5 separate regions of the Homo sapiens genome follow, and regions 1, 2, 4 and 5 are each linked to region 3. The links are contacts of gene promoters, found by promoter capture Hi-C in blood cells and fetal thymus (Javierre and others, 2016). All regions are on one chromosome and are shown on one strand. Each heading gives the region's core, a stretch centred on a gene start or on the middle of the fragment in contact. The rest is flanking DNA. Distances are from core to core; before and after follow the strand shown. Region 1 has its middle 55 kb from the start of TUT7. Region 2 holds the start of CKS2 (CDC28 protein kinase regulatory subunit 2). Region 3 holds the start of DAPK1 (death associated protein kinase 1). Region 4 has its middle 36 kb from the start of TUT7. Region 5 has its middle 17 kb from the start of TUT7.

The links. The method cuts DNA at HindIII sites, captures the fragments that hold promoters and counts their contacts. A CHiCAGO score of 5 or more calls a contact.
Region 1: a contact is called between a fragment that was not itself captured here and the fragment with the promoter of DAPK1 in region 3, in 3 of 17 cell types (M0 macrophages, M1 macrophages and megakaryocytes). The highest score is 10.9, in M0 macrophages.
Region 2: a contact is called between the fragment with the promoter of CKS2 here and the fragment with the promoter of DAPK1 in region 3, in 1 of 17 cell types (fetal thymus). The highest score is 12.0, in fetal thymus.
Region 4: a contact is called between a fragment that was not itself captured here and the fragment with the promoter of DAPK1 in region 3, in 6 of 17 cell types (M1 macrophages, M0 macrophages, megakaryocytes and 3 more). The highest score is 9.2, in M1 macrophages.
Region 5: a fragment that was not itself captured here is called in contact with the fragment with the promoter of DAPK1 in region 3 in 1 of 17 cell types (M1 macrophages); the score reaches 6.2 in M1 macrophages.

What each region holds. Positions count from the first base shown.
Region 1 is chr9:86,406,789-86,412,378 of GRCh38, forward strand. No RefSeq gene overlaps it. Among named protein-coding and RNA genes, the nearest start is that of TUT7, 55 kb to the left of the region's middle. RefSeq lists an enhancer at 3,420-4,017. The HindIII fragment of the contact is 4,518 bases long and covers 670-5,187 here.
Region 2 is chr9:89,307,577-89,312,807 of GRCh38, forward strand. It overlaps CKS2 (CDC28 protein kinase regulatory subunit 2), which reads left to right and starts at 3,619. Exons shown (of 3, transcript NM_001827.3): 1 at 3,619-3,775. The coding sequence starts at 3,717. It overlaps MIR3153 (microRNA 3153), which reads left to right and starts at 4,649; the gene lies at 4,649-4,730. LOC105376136 (a long non-coding RNA gene) reads right to left here and starts at 3,226. Exons shown (of 3, transcript XR_930101.4): 1 at 1,790-3,226; 2 at 1,282-1,370. RefSeq lists a silencer at 2,925-3,154 and enhancers at 3,165-3,454, 4,125-4,174. The HindIII fragment of the contact is 1,703 bases long and covers 2,669-4,371 here.
Region 3 is chr9:87,495,111-87,500,489 of GRCh38, forward strand. DAPK1 (death associated protein kinase 1) reads left to right here and starts at 2,757. Exons shown (of 26, transcript NM_004938.4): 1 at 2,757-2,997; 2 at 3,860-4,029. The coding sequence starts at 3,968. RefSeq lists silencers at 2,406-2,465, 2,486-2,835, 3,206-3,395, 3,606-3,715 and an enhancer at 3,106-3,863. The HindIII fragment of the contact is 10,886 bases long and covers 1-4,981 here.
Region 4 is chr9:86,388,397-86,393,412 of GRCh38, forward strand. No RefSeq gene overlaps it. Among named protein-coding and RNA genes, the nearest start is that of TUT7, 36 kb to the left of the region's middle. The HindIII fragment of the contact is 939 bases long and covers 1,214-2,152 here.
Region 5 is chr9:86,368,543-86,373,801 of GRCh38, forward strand. No RefSeq gene overlaps it. Among named protein-coding and RNA genes, the nearest start is that of TUT7, 17 kb to the left of the region's middle. The HindIII fragment of the contact is 1,847 bases long and covers 2,429-4,275 here.

The DNA of each region.
Region 1 (5,590 bases), core at 1,679-4,178, 1.1 Mb before region 3:
GAGGAATGCTTCTCAAAGATTTCTCAAATGCAGGTTCATGGACTAGTGATAATTATGAAATTAACAATTTGGACAAAATGAGAGACAAAGAAACAAGGTGAGCTTTGTATAAAGCTAAATGTGTTCAGTTGAAAAAATTTTTTTTCTTTAGAACATGTGTCCTACTTTTCTTATTTTTAAAAGACCATTTCATGGTGATTTTAGGGGAATAAGACCATTCTCCTTTACCCTCTCATTTCTGCCCCCTTTTCTGCCAGAGGAGAAGCACCTCAAGAAACTGACATCCAGATGGGAATCAAAGTCCCATTTTTGACCTAGTTAAGCCCTGCTTCCAGGCCAGCTCTCGTGAAGCTGCGATATGGACTTTTAGTTGGCAGGCCTGAGGGCAGCCTTCTACTTTCTCCCCTGAAACCAGATTCAGACAGGTCCCTTCTACAAGGTCCTTCTGACTCATTCCTGGTCACGGGCAGAGGGGGTGGAGCAGAAAGTGAATTACAGATTTGCTGAGGTCAGCCCTGCTCAGCTTGCTGGCTACACAAAGATAAAGACATTTACAGGTAACACTGACTCTGTACCTTGCCCACTGGGGAACCATGCACTGTGATGCCAGCCCTCACTCATCAGATTCAGTACTTCTCTTCCTTTTGGATGGCAGGGAAGTGGAGTGGAAGCTTTCCTCCCCGCATTGGTCTAGAGGTAGAAGTGTGCGGGGAGGAAGATCTTTCCTCCATGGATCAACATGGGGAATGCAGGGGGGTGCTGGGTAAGCTGCGGTATTCACTAAAAGAGCCTCAAGAAGCCTTGAATTTCATTGCAACCTGCCAGCATTGGATAGCTTAGAGTTATCCAAAGAATCATAAGTGTTCTTAATTCCACAGCTGGGCTAAGAAGGATTTTTTTTTTATTGAAGATTAAAGTGTTAAATGCTGGTAAAATACACATAACATAAAATTTACCACGTTAATCATTTTTAAATCCACAGTTTAATGGCATTAAGTACATTCACATTGTTATGCTATCATTGCTACTATCCAAACTGAAACTCTATGCCCATTAAACAATAACTCCCCATTCTCATCTCCTCCCAGTTCCTGACAACCATTCTGCATGTCTTTATGATTTTTTTGTTTTTTTTTTGAGACAGGTTTCACTCTTTTGCCCAGGCTGGAGTGCAGTGGCACGATCTTGGCTCACCGCACCCTCAACCTCTGGCCACAAGTGATCTTCTCATCTTAGCCTTCTAAGTAGCAGGGACTATAGGCATGTGCCACTATGCCCAGCTAAATTTTTGTATTTTTTGTAGAGGTGAGGTCTTACCATGTCACCCAGGCTGGTCTCAAACTCCTGAGCTTGAGCAATCTGCCTGCCTCTGCCTCCCAAGGTGCTAGGGTTATAGGTGAATACCACTGCACCCAGACTTCTCTATGAATTTAACTGCTCCAGATTCCTCATGTAAGTGGAATTGTGCAGTATTTATCTTTCTGTATCTGGCTTATTTCGCTTAGCCTAAGTCCTCAGGGTTCATCAATGTTGTAGCATGTGTCAGAATGTCCTCCCTTTTTAAGACTGAGTCATATTCTATTGCATGTATTTAACTGTTTGTTCTCTAAGGGATTTGAGACAAACCCTCAGCATGGTAGCCAGTACCTGCCACATTAATATGAATAGTTCTGGGAATGGCCTAAAGTTTTGTGGGCAATTCTAGCATCTTCCTGAGCACAGAGCTGGAGAGTGCACAGAGGCCCAGGGTAAATTCTGTATCTCTGCTGAGAAACAGCTATTGCAACCAAGAAAGAGGTATGGGGTGCCTACCCAGTCCCTGGGCACTATTTCAGTGGCTGCTCCCTTAAGATCCCTCCCATTGGAAGCTCGCTTGTGGATTGTACCTCAAACTATTGGCTTGCTCTTGAAAGTGCCTTTTGTGCTGGTGGGATCCTACAATCCTCTGTCTGTAGCACTTACGAAAGAGACAGTTTTGCTGTCAGGATTATGTTCTTGAGAAGTTTCTACTATACCCCAAATCAAGTGAGAGAAAATGTTGAACCTTAATGTCTTCAGCCTTTAATTTACCAAAGTCAAAGGATTTCATCTTTAGACTTCAACCTCTCTTTGAAACTGTAATCACTGATGTGAGTTTATGTAAATTTGGGCATTTTTGTGTGGTTGGCTTTGCCTTATTTGGAACATTTTAGACTTTCATGTGGTGTTTATTATAAAATGTCATGAGTTATGTTGGGTATTAGGTGGAATATAATTGGAGATGGAAAATTTAAAAAGCAATGAATTTTGGCTTTCAGTGTGTGCAGTCTTGAAGTTTTCTTCTTTCTTTTTTTCCATTTTATTTTATTTCATTTTATGTTTTTAGAGACAGAGTCTTGCTATGTTGCCCCAGCTGGTCTCGAACTCCAGGGCTCAAGTGATCTTCCCACCTCAGCCTCCTGAGTAGCTAGGACTACAGGCATATACCATCATGCCCAGCAAAGTTATCTTAATTCTGTCCTTACTGATTTCAGAGCCTTCTGGGGCAATAGCTGAGCTGCCCATTTTACAGATCCCAGAAGCAGACACAAGGAGAAGCATGGGATGGGAGTAGGGCTCAGCTTTGTGGAGGTGGAAGGGGCACTGCTCTGAGATTACTCTGCCCACTGGCTTCAGGTGTGTTTATGAAATCTCACTGATGGAGAGATGCCAGCTAGTGTCTCCTTAGTCTGCCTTAAGAGACCCTCTGTTACTCTGCAGGCATTAGGCACTTGACCAATCCACTAATAAAGTTGTTTTTTTTTGATCTTCATCTGGATCTCAGTGTCAATTCTCCACTGGTTGGAACCAGCGTGGGAGGAGGGATGATCAGAGTTGTTATCTTTAATGTATTTCTTTTTTTCTTTTTCTTTTTTTTTGAGATGGAGTCTTGCTCTGTAGCCCAGGCTGGAGTACACTGGTGCAATCTTGGCTCACTGCCACCTCCATTTCCCGGGTTCAAGCAATTCTCCTGCCTCAGCCTCCTGAGTAGCTGGGATTTCAGGTGCCCGCCACCATGCCCAGCTCATTTTTGTATTTTTAGTAGAGATGGGGTTTCACCCTGTTGGCCATGCTGGTCTTGAACTCCTGACCTCAAGTGATCTGCCAACCTCGGCCTCCCAAAGTGCAGGGATTACAGACATGAGCCACCACTCCTGGCCCTTTAATGTATTTCAAACAACAAAGAGTTGGCAAGCCCATGTGAATTCCCAAAATTAATTCTTTTTTTCTTTGAGATGGAGTCTCGCTCTGTCGCCCAGGCTGGAGTGCAGTGGCGCGATCTTGGCTCACTGCAAGCTCTGCCTCCCGGGTTCACGCCATTCTCCTGCCTCAGCCTCTTGAGTAGCTGGGACTACAGGCGCCCGCGACCACGTGCAGCTAATTTTTTGTATTTTTAGTAGAGACAGGGTTTCACAGCATTAGCCAGGATGGTCTCGATCTCCTGACCTCGTGATCCACCCGCTTTGGCCTCCCAGAGTGCTGGGATTACAGGCGTGAGCCACATCACCCGGCCAATTAATTTTTTTTTTTTTCAAACTGATCCATGGACTCATCTTCTGGAATCCACTGCCTTAAAGATCATGCAAATCTATGTGCTCATTTTACAAAAGAGGAATGTGAAGCCCAGGGAGTTTATTTAACTTGCTGATGGGCACAGATGGTGATCAAGCTGTGCTCAGAGCTGCAAGCTGTTTCCATCAAACCTGCTAGAAGCCTCCAGCTGAGATTAGGGCCCCGGCCACATTCACCTCCTAGGATTTGCAGTGGTGTAAAACGTGCCCCAGGATGTGCAGTGGTCTGGGGGAAGGCGGGAGAGACCCCTGGACCTGTGCTGGCATAGCTACCATGTCCATGACACTGGGAGGCTAAGATGGAGAGGAAAACAAGATGAGTCCAGCTTCCCTACTCAAAAGCCACAAAACAGTACAGTCAAGGACAATCCTGGTCTCATCTACACTATAGGCATTTCAGGAGGACCAAATTAGGTAACCAAGATGTGGGTGCTTGAAAAATTATGATGTATAATCTGAAAGCAATGTTAGCATCAGGCTACCGAGACAATCTTGTGTGGGCCAAGTGTGGAATCAGCATCATCATTTTATAAGCATGCTTCATGGGCCAGGTTTTCACATCAGCCTTGATATCTCCATCCAAAGCAAACTCACCCATTCATACTGGAGAAAAACTCTTCTTGATTTTTATGTAGTGAACTGAGATTCCTCTAATGCCTCACAAAGATATTTTTCCAATTTCAGATGGGAACCTGTCTTCCTTAAACTTTTCCTTTTTATAGCCCCCTGTAAAGATTTTGATATCATCTCATGTAATCTTCTTATTCCCAATTTTTTAAATGAGTTCTTTAGAGTTCTTCATTATACTGTGAGTAGAAAATTCCAAGTTATCAGTTTATCTGTTTTAGCCAAGGATTGAAAAGACATTTAGTATAATTTACAAGGAGGAAAATGTAAGGAAATAGGAGATTTTAACTAGATATTAAATAGAAGGAAACAAAACAACCTTTACAACTGCTTTTCTTGCTTTAGAATATTATTTTTAAGATTTAGCCTGAAATTGAGAATCAAGAGCTTATCTGGTTTGCTTTATGGTTTCTAAAAATTCATTTGATTCTAACATTACATGGTTCCTATTGGTATTTCTGTTTTTGATGGACAGATAATGTGCTGTAATGTCTACTCATGTAATATCTAGTGTTGCATGATTCCTCTCCATCTCTCTGTTTTTGAGAAACAGAAGCAATGTTTATTTGAGTGGAAATATGATTTCAAATCATATTTCAAAGACTTCAAATAACTGATAGTGCTCATCTCCCCAGAGGGAATCATGAGTCAAAGGTCAGGGAGTAGCCTGTGAATGAAAATGTGCTGTGCCCACAAGAAAAGATGTCAGTCACAAAGCGAAACTAACACCGCAAATATAAGGGGGTCTTCAAAAAGTCCATGAAAAATATGTATTGTGAAAAAACTGTGCATGGATTTAAAATTCTTTTTTTACAGCAAATAAACTTGTACTAATTTATTATAATATATCTGAACAGGGTCTAGTTTGAGGCACTAAGGAGGATAATGCATCCGTTTGAAAAGAGTCCTTATAAGAGAAACATGGATTCTGCTAAAATTCAAGCAAGAACAGACATCACATTTGTGGTGAAGCTTGGGTGGAAGAATGGTAACATCACTGATGCTTTACAAAAAGTTTATGGAGAAAATTCTTCAAGTGATAATTTTACAAATGAATAACTTGTTTTAGGAAAGGACAGGGCCGTGTGAGGTGGCTCACGCTTATAATCCCAGCACTTTGAGAGGCCAAGGATGATTGCTTGAGGCCAAGAGTTTGAGACCAGCTTAGGCAACAAAGTGAGACCCTTTCTCTACAAAAAATAGAACATTTACCTGGGTGCGGTGGTGCATGCCTACAGTCTGAGCTACTTGGGAGGCTGAGGCAGGAGGATTGCTTAAGCCCAGGAGTTTGAGCCTGCAGAGAGTTACAATGGTGCTACTGCACTCCGACATGGGTGACAGAGTGAGACCCTGTCTCTTAAAAGGAAAAGGAA
Region 2 (5,231 bases), core at 2,369-4,868, 1.8 Mb after region 3:
TAGGCCCAAGTTTGAAAGCAGGGTTAAACAAACTATAAAAAGCTTTGGTGAGGCAGTCAGGGAAATGTGAGTCTAAAACAGCTATCAAAGAGTATTAAGGACGTCTAAGCGTAAGTATGATGTGGTTATGCATTTTTTAAAAAATTTTCCTGAGATGCACACCATAAACACAGAGATACACTGAAAAGTTTTATTTAGGAGTGAACTGACATATCTGAGATCTCTTCAGTAATATTCTAGAAAAAAAAAGTTAGAGAGGAACAGATGAAACATGATTGGCAAACGGTAATTGCTGAAGCTAAATGACTGGAACAAGTTGAGTATCCCTTACCCAAAACACTTGGGACCAGAAGTGTTTCAGGGTTTTTTGGAATCTGGAATATGGGCATTTTGTTAACCAGTTCAGTATCTCTAATAGGAAAATCTGAAATCTGAAGTGCTCCAATGAGCATATCCTTTGAGCTCATGTCAGTGTTGTTCAACGTTTTGGACTTTTGGAGCATTTCAGATTTTCAGATTAAAGATGCACAACCTGTACATGGGAGTTGATTCTATTATTCCATGTGTTTGAACTTTTCACAGTGCAGATGGTCCTTGACTTACAATGGTTCAACTTAAAATTTTTTTGACTAGTCAGGATGTAATCCCATTGTAAATTAAGGAGCATCTATACATTTATTTAAAAATATATCTCCCAGGAAGTTTTTTTCCCCCAGGTTCTGCCAGAAAGTAATTTCCTTGTCCATTTTCCTTAACAGTTTATTCACATTTTTGCCATCATAGTAATTATACCTAATTATTTACTCTTATTATACTGTGCCTAAAATTTACTTCTTATTGTGTGCTTATGTGCAAGGAACTCTGCTATGTGCTAGGCACTCCGTGGTGAACAAGACAGACATGGCCTCTACACTAGCTTCACAGAGTTGTTTTTTTTTTTTTTGAGACGGAGTCTCGCTCTGTCGCCCAGGCTGGAGTGCAGTGGCACAGTCTTGGCTCACTAACAGAGAGTATTTTATAGCGCAGATAGGGAGACAACCACCACCTAAGCAAACATGCAATTGCGACAGTGGGAGGGAAGCCCACTGGAGTCGGTGGCAAGGGCATAATGGGGAAATTGAAGAACTTTCTGTAGAGAAGTTGATTAAGGAAGGCCTTTCAGAAGATGAAATGCTTAATCTGAGACCTGAAGGATTCTATCATGTATGAACGAATGTTTGTGTCTGCTCCCAGCCACCAAATCATGCGTGGAAATTCCAGGCCGGGTGTTGTGGCTCATACCTGTAATTCTGTTACAGGAAAGGGGTCCAGTCCAGATCCCAAGGGAGAATTCTTGGATCTCGTGCAAGAAAGAATTCAGGGTGAGTCCACTGTGCAAAATGAAAGTAAGTTTATTAAGAAAGTAAAGGAATAAAAGGATGGCTACTCCATAGACAGAACAGCCGAGGGCTGCTGGTTGCCCATTTTTATAGTTATTTTTTGCTTATATGCTAAACGAGGGGTGTATTATTCATGCCTCCCCTTTTTAGACCATGTAGGGTAACTTCCTGATGTTGCCATGGCATTTCTAAACTGTCATGGCACTGGTGGGAGTGTAACAGTGAGGACCAAAGTCACTCTCTTCGCCATTTTGGTTTTGGTGGGTTTTGGCTGGCTCCTTTGCTGCAACCTGTTTCATCAACAAGGTCTTTATGACCTGTATTTTGTGCTGACCTCCCATTTCATCCTGTGACTTAGAATGCCTTAACTGTCTGGGAATGCAGCCCAGTAGGTTTTAGGCTCATCTTACCCAGCTCCTGTTTAAGATGAAGGTGCTCTGGTTCACTTGCCTCTGACGATCCCAGCACTTTGCGAGGCCAAGGCGGGCAGTTCACTTGAGGTCAGGAGTTCGAGACCAGCCTGGCCAAAATGATGAAAACCCGTTTCTACTAAAAATACAAAAACTAGCTGGGCCTGTAATCCCAGCTGCTCTGGAGGCTGAGGCAGAATGGCTTGAACCTGGGAGGGGGAGGTCGCAGTGAGCCAAGATCACACCACTGCACTCCAGCCTGAGCAGCAGAGTGAGACTGTCTCCAAAAAAAAAAAAGGGCGGGGGGTGGAATTCCAAACACCCTCTTCCCCCAAGAAGTGATTGTATTAGGAAGTTAGGAGGTGGGGCCTTCGGGAGGTAATCAAGATTAGATGGTCATGAGGGTGGGGCCCTCACCCATGGAGATTATAAATGTCCTTAGCCGGCCTGTCTCACTTGTTCAGAAACCGGAAAAGTCCGTGGTCTGCAGTGTGGAAAAGGGCACCCGGACCTCTTACTTCCAGCCTCTAGTCTGGAAACTTTGTCTAAGGTACCCCATCTACATTACTTAGTCACAGCCACCCTGAACCCACTAGCCTGTACTGCGCTGGAGCATTTCGCATAAAATGAAATTAACATAAAAATGACACGTGCTCGTTGTGGAAAAAATACCAAAAAGATCACTTTTAATTCTGTCATCTAAAAATAACCACCAGTTACATTTATAAATTTCTTCCAGTAACTTTTTTATATGAACATGTTTTTAAACTTGGGTCAATATTAAAAGACCAGAAGTTGTTAAACATCATTTTAAATCCCCTTATCCAGGAATTAGCATTGTTATTCTTGGCCGCAGCAGAATATTATTTTATTCCCTCAAGCTTTCCATGGCTTGGGTCTGCCCTGGTTTTGAACATTAGGTTAGGCTACAGAAAGCATTCTGGGTCTCTGGCCCATTTGTTTCTTTCTTTGTGGAGACGGGGTCTGGCTCTGTTGCTCAGGCCTGTCTGGAACTCCTGGGCTCAAGCGACACTCCACCTCGGCCTCCCGAGTGGCTGGGACCACTGGCGCCCGCCGCCACCGCGCCGGCTCCGGGCCTCTCTCTACGCGTGGCTCCGCAGGCTCCATTCTCCACACAGTCGTCTAGGGGGGCGCCAGGAGCCCCGCGACGGGCCAGGCCGGAAGCTCAGCAAGTGCACCAGGCGGCGAAACGGCCGGCTGCGCAGGGCAGCCCCGGACACAGCCACGCCGCGGCCGCCCGGCGCTCCCCCGACCCAGCCGACCACGAAGCCGCCCTCCCCCTCACACCGCAGAACCTTTCTGCCTTTTACTACTTTTCAAAGTGGACCTAGGCTCCTGGCTCGAGCCTGAGGGGATACAAGGGATCACGAGGAGCGCCATCACCGTGCAAGGTCGACAGCTTCCGCTCAAAGCCCTGTGGCCCACGCTTCCGGCCTCGACCGACTACGTCATCACCAAACCCCGTGATACCTCACTCCACCTTCAGGTCCTCCGTCCCAACGGTTCCGTGTCCTGGAACTTTCCACGTTCCTGCGCACGCGCTCTGCGGCCCTTAACGTCCCGACTTCGCCCTCCTCTGGCCACGCCCCTGCCCGTTAAGGGCCCTGCCACCCCCGTGACGTACCTATCTTCCCTCGGGCAACCTCGCAACAGATCTCTGATTGGCTGACCCAGGAAGCGGACTTTGCGAGGCGGCGGCGACGATAGGCTGGCAGCCGGCCGACTTCCGCAGAAGGTGATTGGTCGGCGCTGCTGTCCAATCGGCGGCGGGCTGTCGGATTCAAATCCGGATCGTTGGGACTGCGGTCGTTAGTCTCCGGCGAGTTGTTGCCTGGGCTGGACGTGGTTTTGTCTGCTGCGCCCGCTCTTCGCGCTCTCGTTTCATTTTCTGCAGCGCGCCAGCAGGATGGCCCACAAGCAGATCTACTACTCGGACAAGTACTTCGACGAACACTACGAGTACCGGTGGGCGCCTTTCTTAGACCCCGAGCCGGCTCCCTCAGCCGGGGCCCCCGCGGGCGGGGCGACCCAGGCATAGTAGGGTCGGGGGTGGGGGCCGGGGCCTGGGGGGCGGAGCCCGGGGCCGGAGGGCGAGGGCCGGGGTTTGGGGTCGCGGCCACCTGGCGCCCCGCGCAGTCGGACATGGTTGGGTGCCTGGCCGCGCCGGGCCGGTTGGGCCTTTGTTCGGTGTGCGCGGAGGGTGAGGGAAGAGTGCCCACCGGGCCGCATTTAGTACCTGGGTAGGAACCGGCGCAACTTGGGGGTCATGGGGTCCTCGGCGACGCGGAGTGACCATCCCGTCACTTTTTTCTCGGCCGTGGCCGAAGTAATTAGGCCGTTCAGTAGCTGGTCTCAGTTCCAGTTCTTTGAACCAGTCCAGGAAAACCCACCTGGTGCCGTCCTTTTTCCTTTAGCAACCGTGACACACTTTCCCTGTCGCTGACGGGGTGATGCAGCTTTTACTAGTTTGTGGTTTAGAATGGTCAAATGGTCATTTTCATCTGTTAACACAGAGGAACACTTTTCTTTTTCTTGTTTTTGAAGTGAGTGGTATAAGAATAAGCTTTGGAGGCGACCCCCCGAAAAATGAGCTTGATGGGGATTCGAAAATGTTTACTGGGTATGGTGATTTGGGCCATTATAGGTTAGCCGCAGTCATACAATTGAGGGTATTATTAAAGGAGTTTCATTTTAAGGCCGATTAAGAACTTGAGTGGACTTTGGGCATCATTTTCTGCTAGTATACACTGGCCAAATTTTGGGCTTTGAGAAACTTTTGCGTTTGAGTCCTGAAGCACCGTACTAGAACATGGTGGCTGTAATCGATCAGTAAAATTAGACAAATTTTAAATGTCCCTGTCCCCTTCCCCCCAATTAAAGTAGATTGGGGGAAAGCGAGTAGGGACATTTAAAATTTGTTGTCCTTACTGTATGCGGGACACTTCATTTAGGGCGTGGCTTCAGAAAACAGTCAACCCCTTTTTCTTAACTAGGTAGCGACTAGAACGCTGCGTTCTGGGATACTACCAAGATTTAGGGGAGATAAAGCCCATGCCATCGTTGGCCAAATTGTGACCTTGTTTTCTGTCTGCTGCCTTTGTAGGTTAGATTTCTCCGAATGCTATTTAAGGAAGAAAGAACAAAACAGTGGGTGGTTTCTCTTTTTCTCCCCCTCCCTAGTAGCATGGAAGTCTGTTTTCACATGAGGACTACTGAATATTTCTATGGGTAGTAGTAATTGCACCCTTTTGTATTCCTAGCTAGAAAAATAGCATGTTTTTCTGGCTGTAGGTAAATTTCAAGTAGATTGTGTTAACCTTATAGTAATAATAAACTATACTCGTGTAATATGCTGGCAGTGTTCAATTATGCGATGTTAATCAAGAGCCCTATTGAGGATATCCAATAATGAACACAATGT
Region 3 (5,379 bases), core at 1,507-4,006:
GTGGGTGGAGGGGGAGAGGGAGGGAGGGAAAGAGAGAGAGAGAGAGAGAGAGAGAAAGAGAAGCAAGCAGGCAGAAGCTCTAATGCCTTATGACCTAACCTTGGAAATAAATTACACTGTGCCACTGCCACTACCTTTTCTTAGAAGCAAGCAGATAGGGTTGGTGAATATTTATTGAGAGGGGAATTAGACTCCACCTCTTGATTGGGGGAGTGTCAAAGAATTTGTGAATATGTTTTTAAATGACCACATTTCCCCTTTCTAAAATGCTTGTCTAAATTGGTGTACACAAAAAGCTCGGGGGTTAGTGACTCATCCAAGGTTATTAAGCTGTTAAATGGTTCCACCAATACTAGATCTAATTTTGTGACTCCAAATTTCATGCTCTTTTTCACTACTCCAGATAATCTCCGGTGAACATCATTGTCCATTAGGGTAGTTAAGACATTCTAGCTGCCAAATAGATTCAGTCCTTTTAATTGCCTCGGACAATATATTTTTTATTTTGCAGAAAATAAATATTACCCATATGGCAGTCATCCATAAACACCTTCCAAGTTTATCCCAAACATCTGTGTTTTAAATTTTTTCTCCCAACAGATGTATTCATTTGCATTTTCCCAGATGAATCACTCTTTTTTTGTTGTTGTTGTTATTTTTGACTGTATTTCTCACCTCTCAAGACCCTTTTGTATTATCAAGCCCACTGCTTAAGCTAATACCATCTCCCAATTTGGGGACTTCCCCTTGATTCCTGTGTGCCCTTCCTGTGGGTCATTAATGCAATGTTATTTAAGACTAGGATTTGGCTGGGCGCAGTGGCTCACGCCTGTAATCCCAGCACTGTGGGAGGCCGAGCCGGGAGGATCACCTGAGGTCAGGAGTTCAAGACCAGCCTGACCAACATGGTGAAACCACGTCTCTACTAAAAATACAAAATTAGCCGGGCATAGTCACATGCCTGTAATCCCAGCTACTGGGTAGCCTGAGGCAGGAGAATCGCTTGAACCCGGGAGGCGGAGGCGGAGTTTGCAGTGAGCCAAGATTTCACAACTGCACTCCAGTCTGGGCCACAAGAGCGAAAACCCGTCTCAAAAAAAAAAAAAAGACTAGGATTTGACATAAGGCCTGAGGGGTATTCTTTTGTTTTGTTTTGCCTTGTTTTCAAGAGGCCAAAATCTTCACAGTTGAAAATTTCTGTTGAACCACAGAGATTTGAACCAACTCAGTTTAGAAAGCCTGGGGATTTGAACAACGGTATGGATCGGAAATCTCTTCATCTGTCAGTTTTCATCATTCTAGGCAGTAAAATAGATTTCCCTTTAGGAGCTTTTCACCGTTTGGGGTTCTCCAGCAGTGGGATGTGGGGAATCAACCCTTCTTCGTCTCCACCCAAACATTAGGTGGGAGCAAGGGGTGGGAAGTAGAGAAAGTGGATAGAGGTCTCCAGTGGATATGGGATCTTTGTGTAGACCAGCACAGTCCTCAGAAATCTCATGCAAGCAACATAGGTACTGTTATATTTTCTAGTGGCCACCTTTTAAAAAGTAAACAGGTGAGGCCGGGCGCGGTGGCTCACGCCTGTAATCCCAGCACTTTGGGAGGCCCAGGCGGGCGGATCACGAGGTCAAGAGATGGAGACCATCCTGGTCGACACGGTGAAACCCCGTCTCTACTAAAAATACAAAAATTAGCTGGGCATGGTGACGCGCGACTGTAGTCCTAGCTACTGGGGAGGCCGAGGCAGGAGAATCACTTGAACCCTGGAGGTGGAGGTTGCCACGCTCCACTACACTCCAGCCTGGCGACAGAGTGAGACTCCGTCTCAAAAAAAAGAAAGTAAACAGGTGAAATTAATTTTAATAATATATTTTGTTTAACCCAACGTATCCAAAATACTATCATTTGAAAGTGTAATGAATATAAAAATATTCATGAGATATTTTTCATTCTCATATCCATACTGTCTTGGACTCTAATGTGTATTTTACACTTACAGCACAATTAATTTGGGACTAGCTACATTTCAGCTCAACAATAGCCAATAGCATATGGGATAGCGCAAATAAACTCTGCGTCTCTGTTGCTTCTTTGGGTCTCGGAGACCTCAACCCTTTCTTCAGATTGCAAACCTTCTTGCCTTCAAGCCTCGGCTCCAACACCAGTCCGGCAGAGGAACCCAGTCTAATGAGGTACGCTCCCTTCCTGCCATTCTCTATTCCATTAACCTGTTTCGTGGTAAACGTAGGACTGATCCTCCAAAATTACCTTATTAATTAGCTTACATATTTATTATCTATCTGTCCCACCAGAATGCAGGTTTCCGGAAGGCAGGGATTTAAAAAAATCTGTTTTGTTCTATGTGATTTTCCCATACCAAGCACCGTGCCCGGCACAAGCTGGGATCCCAGTACACATCTCGGGACGGAAGAACCGTGTTTCCCTAGAACCCAGTCAGAGGGCAGCTTAGCAATGTGTCACAGGTGGGGCGCCCGCGTTCCGGGCGGACGCACTGGCTCCCCGGCCGGCGTGGGTGTGGGGCGAGTGGGTGTGTGCGGGGTGTGCGCGGTAGAGCGCGCCAGCGAGCCCGGAGCGCGGAGCTGGGAGGAGCAGCGAGCGCCGCGCAGAACCCGCAGCGCCGGCCTGGCAGGGCAGCTCGGAGGTGGGTGGGCCGCGCCGCCAGCCCGCTTGCAGGGTCCCCATTGGCCGCCTGCCGGCCGCCCTCCGCCCAAAAGGCGGCAAGGAGCCGAGAGGCTGCTTCGGAGTGTGAGGAGGACAGCCGGACCGAGCCAACGCCGGGGACTTTGTTCCCTCCGCGGAGGGGACTCGGCAACTCGCAGCGGCAGGGTCTGGGGCCGGCGCCTGGGAGGGATCTGCGCCCCCCACTCACTCCCTAGCTGTGTTCCCGCCGCCGCCCCGGCTAGTCTCCGGCGCTGGCGCCTATGGTCGGCCTCCGACAGCGCTCCGGAGGGACCGGGGGAGCTCCCAGGCGCCCGGGTGAGTAGCCAGGCGCGGCTCCCCGGTCCCCCCGACCCCCGGCGCCAGCTTTTGCTTTCCCAGCCAGGGCGCGGTGGGGTTTGTCCGGGCAGTGCCTCGAGCAACTGGGAAGGCCAAGGCGGAGGGAAACTTGGCTTCGGGGAGAAGTGCGATCGCAGCCGGGAGGCTTCCCCAGCCCCGCGGGCCGGGTGAGAACAGGTGGCGCCGGCCCGACCAGGCGCTTTGTGTCGGGGCGCGAGGATCTGGAGCGAACTGCTGCGCCTCGGTGGGCCGCTCCCTTCCCTCCCTTGCTCCCCCGGGCGGCCGCACGCCGGGTCGGCCGGGTAACGGAGAGGGAGTCGCCAGGAATGTGGCTCTGGGGACTGCCTCGCTCGGGGAAGGGGAGAGGGTGGCCACGGTGTTAGGAGAGGCGCGGGAGCCGAGAGGTGGCGCGGGGGTGCCACCGTTGCCGCAGGCTGGAGAGAGATTGCTCCCAGTGAGGCGCGTACCGTCTGGGCGAGGGCTTCATTCTTCCGCGGCGTCCCTGGAGGTGGGAAAGCTGGGTGGGCATGTGTGCAGAGAAAGGGGAGGCGGGGAGGCCAGTCACTTCCGGAGCCGGTTCTGATCCCAACAGACCGCCCAGCGTTTGGGGACGCCGACCTCGGGGTGCCGTGGTGCCCGGCCCCACGCGCGCGCGGGGCTGAGGGGTCGGGGGCGTCCCTGGCCGCCCAGCTTTAACAAAGGGTGCTCCTCTCCACCCCGCGAGGAGGGGCAGCTCCGGAGACCCGGTCTTCAGCGAGCGGGGTCTTAGCGCCGGGGAGGTCTACTTCCTTTTGGGGTTGCCATTTTACTATTATTATTGCCTTTTTTTTTTCTTCAAAAGGACTGGAGACTGATGCATGAGGGGGCTACGGAGGCGCAGGAGCGGTGGTGATGGTCTGGGAAGCGGAGCTGAAGTGCCCTGGGCTTTGGTGAGGCGTGACAGTTTATCATGACCGTGTTCAGGCAGGAAAACGTGGATGATTACTACGACACCGGCGAGGAACTTGGCAGGTAAAGGGGGTACCAGAAGCGTACCCTCCTGGATTGTGGAAATGCATAACGATGGGGCCATTGGGTGGTAAACAAATGCAGTTTGAATCAGGCGTCTCCCTCGCCCTTTCTGGAGATGCGCAAATCATAGAGAAAAGAGTTACTAACCCAGCGGTAAACCGCCTGATCCAAGGGCCTGGGGGTGGAGGAGAGGCAGCAGTTCAGGGCTAGATTATGATGCACAGTATATTGATCCAGTCCCCTGGACAAAATCAGATTTAATTGTCCGTGCTAACTCTTGTCAGCCCTTGCCCTTCTGTGACAACAGGACAAACACTAAGATTATAATTGCAATTGGAGTTAGCTTTTATGTGTGATTTAAACGGAGGGTACAAACTAATTAATAGGTTTTAAAAATCTTAGTACTTTACCCTCTATCTAAATTTTCAGTGTAATTTGAGCAAGTATTGGTAGGTGGTAAATGGAGACTTGCCAGATGTTGACATTGGGCTTGGATTTTGAAACTTCTTCCAACCAGGAATTTAATTACCTGGTTGGTGTTGGTGGTTGCTTTGGTTTCATTTACAATGTTAAATTTTTAACAAATCAATGAGAGTCTAATATGGCTATCTGGATTCAGAGCATACCTCCATTGCTGTAGCAGCTGTGATTCTCAGTGTAAAATCTTTCAGTTTCTAGGTAAACAAAGAATAGTTTCTTTCGGGGCATCTAAGGGCTGATTGCTGTTTCCTTTGACTGTGTATTAGACAGAGTGTTTTGGGCTCTGGTCAACTTTAGTAGAAAACCTAGTTTTCATACATACATTTAAAACTGAATTTATGGAATTTGACTGTGGTGTATTTACATTGTGAGTGGAGTAGGCAAAAGGATCTTTAAACAAACAAAATATGTATTTACTTATATGTGCATTGAAATATGTATTTTCCCATATACATCTGATGTCCTGATACAAAGCTTCCTTTTTCTCCATGAAAAGGAAATTAAAAAACACCCACATCCTGGATTGCCTAATGAGAATTATGGAAACTAAGCTTAACTAAATTTTTTTAAAAATTCAAATGATAGTGTAGAATTTTTTTAAAAGTTACTGTAACAGAGTATTTCTCTAAATATTTAGTATCGACTGAAAACATAGATGGGGGCCTGTGCTTAGGAAGAGCTCTCTGTATATTGATGATCTGGTGAGTAAATAAGGAAAGCTCTTCAAACATCACATTTCATGGATATGTTTAAGATTAAAGTTTAAGAGTGTGTGGGTGAAATATTTGGTTTAACTGGAATTAAATAACTTTACTGTGGTTTTCAGCAAGATGAGTGGTATTTGGAGTTTTCCTTTGGGACTGGAAGAAA
Region 4 (5,016 bases), core at 433-2,932, 1.1 Mb before region 3:
ACGCATCTCTAGGCTATCTTCATCTTTAAAGACTCACCCTGCAGCAGAGGCCAAGAAACTGCTGCCTCCCACCTTATCAATCAGCTGTGCACAGATGGAGGTCCCTCTCCTAGCCCTGGACACAGAGATATGATGGAAAGAAATACAGATTCTTTAGAGAATCTGTATCTCCTTCAAAAGGAAATAGAGCTGGTGTTGGGCAGATCTGAGCTGTGTGGGTGATAAAGACAGGGGAGGATGGAAAGAAATTTCTACTGATTGGATAACCACTGGGCTGAAAACTAAGTATATATGTCTGATAGTCTTCTCAAAATTATACAATTTGTGAGTTATACTAGAAAATGAAGGCTTAGACCGGGTGCGGTGGCTCACAATTGTAATCTCAGCACTTTGGGAGGCCGAGGTGGGCAGATCACCTGAAGTCAGGAGTTTGAGACCAGCCTAAACAATATGGTGAAACCCCATCTCTACTAAAAGTACAAAAATTAGCCAGGCGTGGTGGTGGGTGCCTGTAGTCCTAGCTACTCAGGAGTCTGAGACAGGAGAATTGCTTGAACCCAGGAGGTGGAGGTCATAGTGACTTGAGATTGTGCCACCGCACGCCAGCCTGGGTGACAGAGTGAGACTCTGTCTCAAAAAAAAAAAAAAGAAAAGAAAAGAAAACAAAGGCTTAAAGAGGTAGAATCACAGGCAGATGGCAATATGATTTTACTGGTCTATGTGAGACTTCACCAAGGTCTTTCTGACTTCAACGTTTATATATTTTTTTACTACGCCATGCGCCAAGCTCCTGTCACCTGACTGAATCCTCATACCTCAAAGAGCTACTGTTCCTTTCTGGATTGTGTGATCACCATCTGCAACTGGGACTCAGTAGTCTCAAGACCATGGTTCCAGCTCTGCCTCCATTTTGCTTTGATCTTGGGCAAGTTGTTTTCCCTCGTGGGCTTTGGTTTCCTTAACTGTAAGCAAGAGTCAAAGAACATGAAGCCAAACATTATTGTTTTTAATTAATCATGAACAATTCAATTTTTTCAATTTTTCTCATTAGGGTGTGCATTTTTATAAATTTTTGTATTTATAATGATTTGTTCTTATTGATTATTTGAAATTTAAGTAAAAAGTTAAATTATATATTTTGTGGTTTTTGTTTTTATGTTTAGATTTATCTTCTATTTTTGAAACTGGATTTTAAATTAGAGTTGTGATATAAAGCTTTCTTTTAAAATGTATAAATTTTTTAAAGTCAAATTTATTTACAGAAAATTATTAATAAGTAAATAATTATCCAGAGATGGCAAAAATCATGAAGTTGATAATTATCTGACTGAACTTTAGGAAGTACTAGGTCTAAGACAGAGATGAGAAAATGCTCAGGATTTAACAGTGATGCTGTCTAACATTTGGACATTAAGAAAAATAAGAGGAACTGGAAAAAGAAGGCCAAAAAAGGAGGGGGTTGAGTCATAAGAGGGAAATTAAGAGTGTAACATAATTAGTCCTTGTGCTGTGCTGCTCTAACTGCATGGTTGCCAAATGTATCAAAAAAGCTACCGTTTTTTTTTTTTTGGTCACTTCCAAGGTGGCCAAATAGGAACAGCTCTGGTCTGCAGCTCCCAGCGAGATCGACGCGGAAGAAGGGTGATTTTTCCATTTCCAACTGAGGTACCTGGTTCATTTCACTGGGACTGGTTGGAGAGTGGGTGCAGCCCATGGAGGATTAGCTGAAGCAGGGTGGGGTCACCTCACCCAGGAAGCACAAGGGGTCAGGGGATTTCCCCTTCCTAGCCAAGGGAAGCTGTGACAGACTGTACCTGGAGAAATGGTACACTCCAGACCAAATACTGCACTTTTCCCACAGTCTTAGCAACCGGCAGACCAGGAGATACCCTCCTGTGCCTGGCTTGGCAGGTCCCACGCCCACGAAGCCTTGCTCACTGCTAGAATGGCAGTCTAAGGTTGACTTGTGATGCGGCAGCTTGACCAGTGGGGAGGGGCATCTGCCATTGCTGAGGCTTGAGTAGCTCACAGTGTAAACAAAGTGACAGGAAGCACAAACTGGGCAGAGCCCACCACAGCTCAGCAAGGCCTACTGCCTCTATAGATTCCCCCTATGGGAACAGGGACTAGTACATCAAAAGGCAGTAGAGAAAGCTTCTGCAGACTTAAACATCCCTGTCTGACAGCTCTGAAGAGAGCAGTGGTTCTCTCTGCATGGTGTTCGAACTCTGAGAATGGACAGACTGCCTCCTCAAGCAGGTCCCTAACCCCTGTGTAGCGTGACTGGGAAATACCTCCCGGTAGGGGCTGACAGACATGTCAAACAGGCAGGTGCCCCTCTGGGACGAAGCTTCCAGAGGAAGGATCAGGCAGCAATATTTTCAGTTCTGCAGCCTCCGCTGGCTATACCCAGGCAAACAGGGTCTGGAGTGGACCTCCAGTAAACTCCAACAGACCTGCAGTTGAGGGGCCTGACTGTTAGAAGGAAAACTAACAAACAGAAAGGAATAGCATCAACATCAACAAAAAGGACATCCACACCAAAACCCCATCTGTAGGTCACCAACATCAAAGACCAAAGGTAGATAAAACTACAAAGTTGGGGAGAAACCAGAGCAGAAAAGCTGAAAATTCCAAAACACAGAGTTTTCTCTGTGTTTTGGAGGAGTCTTCTCCTCCAAAAGATTGCAGCTCCTCGCCAGCAAGGGAACAAAACTGGATGGAGAATGAGTTTGACGAGTTGACAGAAGTAGGCTTCAGAAGGTCAGTAATAACAAACTTCTCTAAGCTAAAGGAGCATGTTCTAACCCATCGCAAGGAAGCTAAAAACCTTGAAAAAAGGTTAGATGAATGGCTAACAAGAATAAACGGTGTAGAGAAGACCTTAAATGACCTGATGGAGCTGAAAACCATGGCATGAGAACTTCGTGACGCATGCACAAGCTTCAATAGCCGATTTGATCAAGTGGAAGAAAGGATATCAGTGATTGAAGATCAAATTAATGAAATAAAGTGAGAAGACAAGATTAGAGAAAAAGGAGTGAAAAGAAATAAACAAAGCCTCCAAGAAATATGGGACTATGTGAAAAGATCAAATATACGTTGATTGGTATACCAGAAAGTGATAGGGAGAATGGAACCAAGTTAGAAAACACTCTTCAGGATATTGTCCAGGAGAACTTCCCCAACCTAGCAAGGTGGGCAACATTCAATTTCAGGAAACACAGAGAACACACAAAGATACTCCTTGAGAAGAGCAACCCCAAGACACATAATTGTCAGATTCACCAATGTTGAAATGAAGGAAAAGATGTTAAGGGCAGCCAGAAAGAAAGGGCAGGTTACCTACAAAGGCAAGCCCATCAGACTAACAGTGGATCGCTCAACAAAAACCTTACAAGCCAGAAGAAAGTGGGGGCCAATATTCAACATTTTTAAAGAAAAGAATTTTCAACCCAGAATCTCATATCCAGCCAAACTAAGCTTCATAAGTGAAGGAGAAATAAAATCCTTTACAGACAAGCAAATGCTGAGAGATTTTGTCACCACCAGGCCTGCCTTACAAGAGCTCATGAAGGAAGCACTAAACATGGAAAGGAACAACTGGTACCAGCCACTGCAAAACAAGCCAAATGGTAAAGACCATCGATGTTGGGAAGAAACTGCATCAACTAACGAGCAAAATAACCAGCTAACATCATAATGACAGGATCAGATTCAAACATAACAACATTAACCTTAAATGTAAATGGGCTAAATGTCCCAATTAAAAGACACAGACTGGCAAATTGGATAGAGTCAAGACCCATCAGTGTGCTGTATTCAGGAGACCCATCTCACGTGCAAAGATGCACATAGGCTCAAAATAAAGGGATGGAGGAAGATCTACTAAGCAAGTGAGCAAAAAAAAGCAGGGGTTGCAATCCTAGTCTCTGATAAAACAGACTTTAAGCCAATAAAGATGAAATGTGACAAAGAAGGCCATTACATAATGGTAAAGGGATCAATTCACCAAGAAGACCTAACTATCCTAAATATATATCACCCAATACAGGAGCACCCAGATTCATAAAGCAAGTCCTTAGAGACCTACAAACAGACTTAGACTCCCACACAATAATAATGGGAGAATTTAACACCCACTGTCAGTATTAGACAGATCAATGAGACAGGAGGTTAACAAGGATATCCAGGACTTGAACTCAGCTCTGGACCAAGTGGACCTAATAGACATCTACAGAACTCTCCACCCCAAATCAACAGAATATACTTTCTTCTCAGCACCGCATCGCACTTATTCTAAAATTGACCACATAATTGGTAGTAAAATACTCCACAGCAAACGTAAAAGAAGAGAAGTCACAAGAAAATGTCTCTCAGACCACAGTGCAATCAAATTAGAACCCAGGATTAAGAAACTCACTAAAAACTGCACAACTACATGGAAACTGAACAACCTGCTCCTGAATGACTACTGGGTACATAACGAAATGAAGGCAGAAATAAAGATGTTCTTTGAAACCAATGAGAACAAAGACACAATGTACCAGAATCTCTGGGACACATTTAAAGCAGTGTGTAGAGGGAAATTTATAGCACTAAATGCCCACAAGAGAAAGCAGGAAAGATCTAAAATTGACACCCTAACATCACAATTAAAAGAACTAGAGAAACAAGAGCAAACACATTCAAAAGCTAGCCGAAGGCAAGAAATAACTAAGATCAGAGCAGAACCGAAGGAGATAGAGACAAATAAAACCCCTTAAAAAAATCAATGAATCCAGAAGCTGGTTTTTTGAAAAGATCAACAAAATTGATAGATCGCTAGCAAGAAAAATAAGGAAGAAAAGAGAGAAGAATCAAATAGATGCAATAAAAAATGATAAAGGGGATATCACCACTGTTCTCACAGAAATACAAACTACCATCAGAGAATACTATAAACACCTCTATGGAAACAAACTAGAAAATCTAGAAGAAATGGATAAATTCCTGGACACATACACCCTCCCAAGA
Region 5 (5,259 bases), core at 2,102-4,601, 1.1 Mb before region 3:
TTCTTTCCTTCCTTCCTTCCTTCCTGCTTCCTTCCTTCTTTCCTTTCTTTCCTTCCTTCCTTCCTTCTTTCTCTCTCTCTCTCTCTTTCTTTCTTTCCTTCTTTTTCTTTCTTTCTCTCGAGACAAAGTTTCACTCTTGTTGCCCAGGCTGGAGTGCAATGGCACAATCTCACCCACTGCAGCCTCTGCCTCCCAGGTTCAAGTGTTTCTCCTGCCTCAGCCTCCCAAATAGCTGAGATTAGAGGCACCCACCACCATGCCTGGTTAATTTTTCTGGATTTTTAGTAGAGATGGGATGTCATGATGTTGGCCAGGCTGTTCTCAGACCCTTGACCTCAGGTGATCTACCCACCTCTGCCTCCCAAAGTGCTGGGATTACAGGGGTGAGCCTCCATGCCCAGTAATAAATTTCAACAAAGAAAATGTTACAATCTTGTTACAGGTATGCCAAGATCATATGCCTACTGCATAGTAATAGACCAATACACTGAGACAGCATGGTTTGCAGCAGAGAAAGAGTTTAATGATTGCAGGGCAGCCAAGTAGAGAGACGAGAGGAATCCTCAAATCCATATCCTCCGGGGAGTTCTGGACTGGGGTTTTTAAGGAGATTTTGGAGGGCAAGGGGCTGGAAAATTGGGGCTGTTGATTCATTGTGGCAAGGGGATGAGATCATCAGGATGTGGAAACTTCATTCATTGGTGAGTCAACTTCTCATAGAATCCTACAGACCAGCTGGCATCAGTAGTTTCAGTATGCAGGATCTGAAAGAATATCTGAAATGGAAAACAATATTTCACAATGCTTAAGTTGCTATCTCTAGAACAGTTCAGGGGAAGTATAATCTTGTGACAGAGTTTGTGTGATTCCAGCGCAGTAGGTTGTAAACAACTATGAGGAAACAGGTCAGAGAACAAGCTGGCCTAATGATTAATGCTGAATGTGCTGCAAGGTTGGTTTGTTTTCATTTCTCCATCTCCCTTTTTCACTGATTAATTTTATAAAGTTTATAGGAACAGTTTTGATCCTGTTAAATTTCTTTTAACTTTGGAGCACTGACTTCATTTTTTTTGCAGTCTGTATTTCCAGGATGGCTATTCCCAGTTTTTTGCTGGAATAAACTCATTAAAACTGAATTCTCATTCTTTTGGTTATTTCAGGTTGACAGTTTTATAGAGCTATATATACCTTGTTACCTGCTACATCATGTAGCTATTTATTATTGTTATTTATTTCTTGTCTTTTATTTTATTTTCCACTAAAATATAAATACCACAAGGGCAGAGATTTTCCTGTTGGGTTAACCTGTATGTCCTCCAGAACGTAGTATTTCATGAGGTATATAAACCACATTTACTTTATCTGTTTATTTTACTGGACACCTAGGTTGATTCCTTATCTTGCCTATTGTGAATAGCGCTGCAATAAATAGGCGGATGCCAATGTCTCTTCTATGTAATGATTTCCTTTGCCTTGGATAACTTCCCAGTAGTAGGATTGCTGGATCATACAGTAGTTCTATTTATTTTTTTTTGAGACGGAATTTCCCTCTTGTCACCCAAGCTGGAGTGCAATGGCGCCATCTCAGCTCCCTGCAACCTCTGCCTCCTGGGTTCAAGTGATTATCCTGCCTCAGCCTCTCAAGTAGCTGGGATTACAGGCACACATCACTATGCCCAGCTAATTTTTGTATTTTTGGTAGAAACGGGGTTTCACCATGTTGGCCAGGCTGATCTCAAACTCCTGACCTCAGGTGATCCACCCACCTCGGCTTCTCAAAGTTCTGGGATTACAGGTGTGAGGCACTGTGCCCATTCCTATTTGTCATTTTTAAAGGGAGCTCCATACTGTTCTCCATAGTGGCTGTAAGGGTTGCATTCTCACCAACAGTGTATACAAGCTCCCTTTTCTTGGCCAAGTGCGGTGGCTCATGCCTATAATCCCAGCACTTTGGGAGGTTGAGGCAGGAGGATCACTTGAGCCCAGGAGTTCGAGACCATCCGGGGCAACACAGCGAGACTCCATCTCTAAAAAAAAAAAAAAAAAGAAAGAAAGAAAGAAAAATTCCCTTTTCTCTGCATCCTCACCAGCATTTGTTGTTTTTTGTCTTTTTGAAATTGTCATCCTAACTGGGGTGAGATAATACCTCACTGTGGTTTTGATTTGCATTTCCCTGATGACTGGTGATATTGAGCATTTTTCATATATTTGTTGGATTTGACCATTTGTATATCTTCTTCTGAGAAGTTTCTATTTCTATTATTTGCCCATTTTAAAATCAGATTCTTTGTTATTTTGCTGTTGTGATGTTTCAGTTCTTTGTATATTCTGCATATTAATCTCCTGTCAGATGAGTAGTGTGCACATCTTTTCTCTCATTCTGTAGGTTGTCTTTTCACTCTGTTGATTGTTTCCTTTGCTGTGCAGAAGCTTTTTAGTTTGATATAATTCTATTTGCTTATTTTTGCTTTTTTTCCCTATACTTTTGAGGTCTGATTCATAAAATCTTCTCCCAGACCAATGTCCTGAAGCATTTTCTCTATGTTTTCTTCTAGCAGTATTATTGTTTTGGGTTTGACATTTGGGTCTTTGATCCATGTTCAGTAGATTTTTGTATAGGGTGAGAGGTGGGGGTCTAGTTTCATTCTTCTCTATATGCATATCTAGTTTATCTAGACACATTTTTTAGAGAGACTGTCCCTTCCCCCATGAGTGTTCTTGGCACCTCTGTTAAAAATCAGTTGGCTGTAGATATGTGGACTACTTTTGGGGTTCTCTATTTTGTTCTATTGGTCTATGTGTCTGTTTCATGCCAGTATCATGCGTTTTGATTACTCCAGGTTTGTAGTATATTTTGAGTTCTGGTAGTGTGATGACTCCAGCTTTTTTCTTTTGCTCAGGATTGCTTTGGATACTTGGGGTCTTTTGTGGTTCCACACAAATTTTAGGATTTTTTTTCTATTTCTGTGAAGAAGGTCATTGTTATTTTAATAGCAATTGCACTTAATCTGTAGATTACTAGGGGAGAGTATTGTCATTTTAAGAATATTAATTATTTCAGTCCATGAGCTTGAGACATCTTTCCTTTTTTTCTTTTTGAGATGGGGTCCCACTCTGTCACCCAGGCTGGAGGCTGGAGTGCAGTGGTGCAATCTTGGCTCACTGCAATCTCTCCCTCCTGGGCTCAAGAGATCCTCCCACTTCAGCTTCTCCAGTAGCTGGGACTACAGACATGTGCTGTCGTGCCTAGCTAATTTTTGTAGTTTTTGTGAGATGGGTTCTTACTGTGTTGTCCAGACTGGTCTGGAACTCCTGGATTCAAGTGTTCTGCCTGCCTCAGCCTACCAAAGTGCTGGGATTACAGGAGGGAGCCACTGCACCTGGCTGTCTTTCCATTTTTTTGGTATCCTCTTCAATTTCTTTAATCAGTGCTTTGTATTCCTCATAGAGGTCTTTTGCTTCCTTGGTTAAATTTATACTTAGGTATTTTATTTCATTTTATAGCTGTCATAAATGGGATTGCCTTCTTGATTTCCTTATCAGCTATTTAATTGTTCATATATAGGAGCACCATTGATTTTTGTATATTAGTTTTTTATCTTACAACTGTACTAAATTTGTTTACCAGTGCTAAGTTTTTTGGTAGCATCTTTAGGTTTTTCTATATGTAAAATCATGTTGTCTGCAAACAGGAACAATTTGACTTTCTCCTTTCCCATTTGGATGCCCTTTATTTCTTGCCTGATTGCTCTGGCTAGGAGTTCCAGTACTATGTTGAATAGGAGTGATGAAAGTGAGCAACCTTGCCTTTTTTTTTTTTTTTTGAGATAGAGTCTCAATCTACTCCCAGGCTGGAGTGCAGTGGCCCAATCTTGGCTCACTGCAACCTCTGCCTCCCAGGTTCAAGCAATTCTTATGCCTCAGCCTCCCAAGGAGCTGGGACTACAGATGCGCCACCACACCTGGCTAATTTTTTGTATTTTTAGTAGAGACAGGGTTTTGCCATGTTGGCCAGGCTGGTCTTGAACTCCTGGGCTCAAGTGATCTGCCTGCCTCAGCCTCCCAAAGTGCTGAGATTACAGGTGTGAGCCACTATGCCCGGCTGGCAACTTTGTCTTGTTCCAATTCTTAGAGGAAAATCTTTTAGCTTTTCCCTATTCAGTGAGATGTTAGCTGAGGGTTGTCTTACATAGCCTTCATTATGCTGAGGTACTTTCTTTCTATACCTAATTTATTAAGGGTTTTCATCTTGAAGGGATGTTGTGTTTTATCAGAAGCTTGTTCTGCATCTATTGAGATGATAATAAGCTTTTTGTCCTTAATTCTATTGATGCAATATATAACATTTATTAATATGCATATGTTGAACCATTTTTACTTTCCTGGAATACATTCCGTGTGATCACTGCTTATTATCTTTTTGATATGTTATTGGATTTTGTTTGCTAGTATTTTGTTGAAGATGTTTGCGTCTGTGTTCATCAGAGACACTGGCCTGTAGTTTTCTTTGTTTATTGTGTTGATTCTGGAACTGGAGTCATGCTGGCCTCATAGAATGAGTTAAGAAGAATTCTCTCTGCTTCAACATTTTGAAGTATGAGAAAAATTGGTATTAATCATTTAAAGATTTGGCCGGGTGCAGTGGCTCACACCTGTAATCCTAGCACTTTGGGAAGCTGAGGAGGGTGGATCACCTGAGGTCAGGAATTCGAGACCAGGCTGGCCAACATGGCAAAACCCCATCTCTACCAAAAATACAAAAATAAGCTGGGTGTGGTGGCATGCGTCTGTAGTCCCAGCTACTCGGGAAGCTGAGACAGGAGAATCACTTGAATCTGAGAGGCAGATTGTAGTGAGCTGGGATCACACCATTGCACTCAGGCCTGGGCAACAGAGCAAGACTCTGTTTCAAAAAAAAAATTCTTTAAAGGTTTGGTAGAACTCAGCAGTGAAGCCATCTGGTCCTGGACTTTTCTTTGTTGAAGCACTTTTTATTAGTGATTCAATCTCATCACTTGTTATTGATTTGTTCAGGTTTTCTATTTCTTCTCAGTAGGTTGCATGTGTCCAGGAATTTATCCATTTCCTCCAGGCTTTCTCATTTATTGGCACATCATTGTGCATAGTTGTCACTAATGAGTCTTTATATTTCTATGGTATCCATTGTGATATCTTCATTTCTGGCTTTTGATTTTATTTATTTGGATCTTCTCTCTTTTTTTCTTAGTCTAGCTAATGGTTTTTTTATTTTGTTTATCT